2 separate regions of the Homo sapiens genome follow, and region 1 is linked to region 2. Evidence: promoter capture Hi-C in 16 types of primary human blood cells and fetal thymus (Javierre and others, 2016). All regions are on one chromosome and are shown on one strand. Each heading gives the region's core, a stretch centred on a gene start or on the middle of the fragment in contact. The rest is flanking DNA. Distances are from core to core; before and after follow the strand shown. Region 1 holds the start of ACTR5 (actin related protein 5). Region 2 holds the start of SNHG17 (small nucleolar RNA host gene 17).

Evidence for each region. The method cuts DNA at HindIII sites, captures the fragments that hold promoters and counts their contacts. A CHiCAGO score of 5 or more calls a contact.
Region 1: a contact is called between the fragment with the promoter of ACTR5 here and the fragment with the promoter of SNHG17 in region 2, in 7 of 17 cell types (neutrophils, erythroblasts, fetal thymus and 4 more). The highest score is 12.2, in neutrophils.

What each region holds. Positions count from the first base shown.
Region 1 is chr20:38,747,150-38,749,849 of GRCh38, reverse strand. ACTR5 (actin related protein 5) reads right to left here and starts at 1,390. Exons shown (of 9, transcript NM_024855.4): 1 at 997-1,390. The coding sequence starts at 1,371. RefSeq lists silencers at 1,155-1,344, 1,645-1,914 and an enhancer at 1,293-1,794. The HindIII fragment of the contact is 9,906 bases long and covers 1-2,700 here.
Region 2 is chr20:38,433,980-38,436,679 of GRCh38, reverse strand. It overlaps SNHG17 (small nucleolar RNA host gene 17), which reads left to right and starts at 1,352. Exons shown (of 8, transcript NR_185934.1): 1 at 1,352-1,653; 2 at 2,054-2,176. LOC124904958 reads right to left here. Exons shown (of 3, transcript XM_047440636.1): 2 at 2,075-2,217; 3 at 1-1,838. The coding sequence ends at 1,192. It overlaps SNORA71D (small nucleolar RNA, H/ACA box 71D), which reads left to right and starts at 2,681; the gene lies at 2,681-2,700. RefSeq lists enhancers at 1,230-1,289, 1,310-1,599. The HindIII fragment of the contact is 24,063 bases long and covers 1-2,700 here.

The sequences.
Region 1 (2,700 bases), core at 141-2,640, 310 kb before region 2:
TGAAAATACGAAAGTAGAGTCAATTTAAGTTATTAAGTCAAGGTCCCATCCAAACTGTCAGCAAATCGTGTTGGCTCTATCTTCAAAGTATTTCCAGAATCCAACTGCTTCTAATGACATTCCCTGCTATCTGCCTCATCTAAGCCACCATCATCCCTTACCTGGGTTATTCCAACAGCCTCCTAACTCGTCCCTGTTTCCACCCTATGATCCAAGACAATTCATTCTCCATACAGCAGTAATAGTGATCCTTTTAAAACACAAGTCAGGTCCTTCTTCAGCTCAACACCCTGCCATGGCTCCCCATTTCACTCAGTAAAAGCCTATAAGGTGTGTGATCTGCCTCTCCACTACCTCTCTGACATCCTCTTTCAGGTACTACTCTCCCCCTCACACAGGCAGCCTTGCAGTTAGGATTAGGGCACACTCCTGCCTCGGGGCCTTTTTACTGGCTGCTCCCTCTGCCTGGACCGTTTTTCCTTCAGATATTCACATGGCTTGCTACCTGAATCACCTCCTTCAAGTCCTTGCTCAAACATCACCTTCACGAGTCCTACCCTGACCATCTTACTGAAAAAATGTAACTCCCTCCTCTCCTATCACGGCGTAGAATCTACTATTTCTATGTTTACTGTCTGCCTTTTCATACTAGAATATCTTTCCATAGTATTAACAGCTCCATAAGCACAGGAAGTTTTGTGTTCACACATGTACTCCAAATGCCTAAAAAGTGCCTGACACAGAGTAAGTGCTCAATACGTATTTGTTAATAAATGGGCTTCTTAACAAACAAGCATATATGCCCAAAGGTATGCTCCAAGATACAAGGAGCAGCATTTTATTCGCTGCTACACCCACAGCGCCTAGCATCTGGTCGACTAAAAGACAATCGGAGCTACTGAAGTGACTGTTACCTCTCCGAGAGCAGAGTGAGCGGAGACGAGACCGCACCCCTCCCCTCAAACCCAGCCCAGCCCAGCCTACTCCGCCCTTCACCTGTGAGGAGACACCCAGGTGCTGGAAGCTGTAGTCCAGCAGCAACTCCTGAAGCTCCAGGTTGACCGGCACGTTGCGGTCGAAGGGCGAGCGCAGCATCCAGCGCAGTGGCTCCAGGCTGCCCAGAGCGTTCCCCACCTGCGGGCCCGACGCGCCCCGTGCCCCGCCACGACCGCGGGCGCACACCGCGCGGAACTGCAGGCGCGGCTCGGGACCTGGGTCCTGCCCGGGACACGCCCAGCCAGCGCGGACTTGGAACGACCCGTTGTCCAGCACCAGCGGTACCGGCAGTGGCCCGTGTGCCACCGGGCCGGCCTCCAGCACTGGGTCCGGTGCGGCACGGGCGTCGCGGAACGGGAACACGTTCGCCGCCATCTTGGAGCGCGCGTCCAGCCCCGCCCCTCGGCGCAGTGTCCGCCCAGACGCCGCGAAACCGCGCCCCCGACGTCACGCCGCGCGATTCAGGCCTTTAAGTACCTCGATGCCCCCTCCCTTCTCGAAGCCCGGCCAGCCTTTCCACTTGACTCGCCTCTGGCTGTCAAGGCTGCTTTCAGGATCGCTGAGACGTACCCATTCTGGCTGCGAAATTCTACGTTTCTTAACCTCTCCCCCAATAGCCTATGAGTGCCCACGCCCCTTCACTCTAGCCGGGACGCCCGGTTTGGAAGCCCCGCCCCAAAGCCTATCGCCGCCAGGCCCCGCCCCTTTCTGGCTGCCAGCTTCAGCGCCGCGCTCGGTGGAGCCCCGCCTCTCTGCCTGGCCACGCCCCATTGCCGGGCGCGCACCGTCGGCCGGGCGCGCACCGTCGGCCGGGCGCGCACCTTCGACCGCCGGCGGCCCCGCCTCCGCGTGGCTGTCTCGCCCTCAGTCTTGCGTCCTGGCTAGAAGGGTCCTTTATCTTTTGACGCTTCCTTTACGTTAAGAAATCTCAAACTCTGCCGACTGTTCAATTTCTTGACTAGGGAGCTGACTACTCAGTTCTGTTCACTTTACTAACTCGCACAGACTGTGTCTTCTCACTAAGACACAGTGTTTTCTCAAACCCTGAGAAAAGACTGCTGATTGTTCCCCAAGCATTCCCTCTCTTTTAGTGGCATCACCTCCCACTCCCACGTGGCCATCCGTCTGGCTGCGATCTAGATGCGCTCATGTGACTAAATTCTGGCCAGGAGCGGGTGGGAGAGGAGGCCATGTGTGTGACCCACTCAGTTTTAGCCCTAAAAGCACTCGTCGCGCTCTATCCTGTCGCATTTCCATCTTTTCACTAGCTAAGGGGGTAAGAATTAGAGCAGTTGTTTTACTACAACCTTTTTTTGTGCAGTGGGGCGATCTCGGCTCACTGCAGCCTCGACTTCCTGGACTCAAGTGATTCTCCCGCCTCAGCCTCCTAAGTAGCTGAGATTACAGGCGTGCACCACCACGCCCAGCTAATTTTTATATTTTTAGTAGAGAAGGGATTTCACTATGTTGCCCATGCTGGCCATAACCATTTTGAAAGAAGAAAAAGAATAGAGCAGCTGCCTTGAATCTACTCTACCAGGTCTATAACACTTCAGTTTGAGAGATAAAATCAAATTAGTTACAAAAGATATTGTAAGCGAGAAATGAAACTCCTAACTTATCTCAAGAACCTCTATTAACAGTGTTTGTTGTTGTTGTTGTTTGTTTTTTTTAAGACGGAGTCTGGCTCTGTCACCCAGGCTG
Region 2 (2,700 bases), core at 103-2,602:
GCATGGCTGTGGAGGCCTCAGGAAACTTACAATCATGGCGGAAGTGGAAGCAAACATGTCTTTCTTCACATGGTGGCAGCAAGGAGAAGTATAGAGCAAAAGTGGGTAAAGCCCCTTATAAAACCATCAGGTCTCATGAGAACTCACTCACTATCAGAAGAACCGCAGCATGGGGGTAACCACCCCCATGATTCCATTACCTCCCACGACAGGTGGGAATTATGGGAAGTACAGTTCCAGATGAGATTTAGGTGGGGTCACAGCCAAACCATAGCAGCATCCCACAGCCCCTCCCCATCACAGAGACTCCCAGTGTTCTCACAGTCTGGGAATCCCATGGGCCTCTCCCAGGTACAAAATATGGAGCAGATCTCACCTCAGGGACCCCCATTTCCCTCATGGTTGCATAGATCAGGACTGGATTTTCTTGTCCTTCTGACCTATTGAGTACCAAGAATCTGACTGGAGCGGGGCGGAGGGTGGGGCGTGGGCTCCTCATCAGGCCCAAGGGTGGGCTGCTTGCACTCCAGAACATGGGCAGAGTCAGTAGCAGGGCTGTCTCAGGCCGAAGAGGCACATCCTGCCCAGGGTGCAGGCAGTGCCAATGCTTATGAGGATTTGTGGGCCATGAGTCCCCTCCCAAGATTGTCTCCAGTATGTTGCAGGGAACATGGGACATCTGTCTACAGTCTCTGTCACTGTGCAAATCTGATCAGGTTCCTCAGATGCCAGTCTGGTCAGGTCTCTTCTGCTTCAGAGACTCTTTCCACCCTCCATCCCGTGTACTTTGAGGCTGGAGTTTAGCAAAGCAGTTACCCGCTGTGCATCTCTCTTGGCTCATCTTCTCACGCTCACATTCCAGTCTCAGGCCATGACTCAGTCATCTCGGTCTGACATTGTTCAGAAAAAAAGGAATGGGGCGGGGGTAGAATTCATTCATTCAACTGTGCTAGTCACTGAACTAGGTACTGAGTACAGTGGTGAATCAAAGACAGATGCCTTTGGACCCTTGCAGAAAGAAGTCCAAACTAAGCACAGTCCCCTCATCGTAGTAACAGCTCCTATCATGGAAAATTGGCCATTCCTACAGATTAATAATGAATCAGTGACCAAGGAACATCTTCAGAACAAACAGAAAAGCAAAGCAAGTGGGAGAAGTTTACTTCTAAACTTCCAGATAGTTTTCGAAAATTATCCCAAGTCCTCCAGAGTCTGGCGTTGAGCCTCCGCTCCGCCAGGGGACGCTGCAGGACTGCTCGCGTCGGTTCCTACCGCTCTAGGCCGCAGCTCGCGCTCTCGTCTGTATTTCCGCCGGCGCGAAACGAGCGTAGCTTCCTTGTCGTGTGGCCTCAGTCCTTCGCCGTCCCTCGCCGTCCTTCGCCATCGCACGCCACCGCACCCCATCTCTCGAAATCTGCAGACATCTTGATTTTTCCCACGCTGTCTGTCAGGTCTCCGCCGCCACTCGACGCCAGGGCGCCGGGTGAGTCCACAGCAGGGCGCATGGTCGGCTCCACTCTCACCATCGGGGGAAACTGAGGCCCCGGGGAAGGCGGCCAGAGAGGTCAGGCCCTGTCCTTGGTGCAGTGTCTCGTCCTCTTTGCCGGAGTGAGCCCCCCAGGATTCGCGTGTCCTCGGGAAAGACACTGGCAGGTGAGTCGCGCCCTTGGCCGCGGCAGTGCTGAGCGGGCCACGTGCGGTCGTCAGACCCCCTGTCCGCGCAGCTACTCTGCGGGGAGGCTTAGTGCCCCTGGATGGCGGGAAACAGGGCTCGGCGACTTTAGCTGCCCGCCCCCGACTCCTGGCATTGGAAGCCTCCAAAGCCACTTGACTGTTGCCTACAAAGTGCCAGTCATTGTGCCACGTCCTTGAGACCGTTAACTCGTTTTCCCCTCAATAACTTTTAAAAGTAGGTGTTAGAACCTTCATTTTACAGACCAGTTAGCTGTGGTTTAAATGGAAGACGCTGCCAGCACTCCAGTGGGGCAGAGTCTGGACTTCTGTCCCCGGGCCTTGTACTAAAGCCCCCTCCCCGTGCTTTTTCCTTGCCTAGGCCTTGTGGGCTGTGCTGCACCTCGGACGGCTTCGCACCAGCCAGCGCCCTCTCTCTCCTGCAGCACTCTGATCTGCACCCCCTGAGGGGCTTCCACTGTCCGCGGGGTGAGAATGCCCCTGGGTAAGTGCCGCTGCTTCTGCGCACCTTGGGGAAGGACCCTTCTGTGGGACGCAGTAGAGGGGACAGTCAATGAGCTCAGCCAGTTCTGAGTTCTGAGAACTGTCTGGCAAAGCGGGTGCAGAGCAAAGCGTGACTTAGGAGACGGGCTGCGCTTGGGGTCACATGCTAGCTAAGTTCCTTCATTCCCCTGAGGTTGACTTTCTGTAAAGTAGGGAAACTGCAAAGGCTCTCTGAGGGCAGAGGCCTTGGCTGTTTTTCTTGATTTTGAACCCACGGTGCCTGTCCACGTGTAGATACTCAGAACTGGTGGGCTGAATGTACAGCCGAGGCATTTTTACCAGAAGTCTGTTTTCCTGTGGACTCTGGGTGGGGACAGATGGAATCTGCCTGTGAAGTGATGATGGCTCTCAGGGTCCTGGGTACCCTTCTCTTCCCTGGGGGGTGAGCCTCCCTCTGGAGATCTGGCAGCTAACACGCTGACGTGGGCTCACCTGCCCTTTTTTGCACCTGTATTCGAAAGTGAT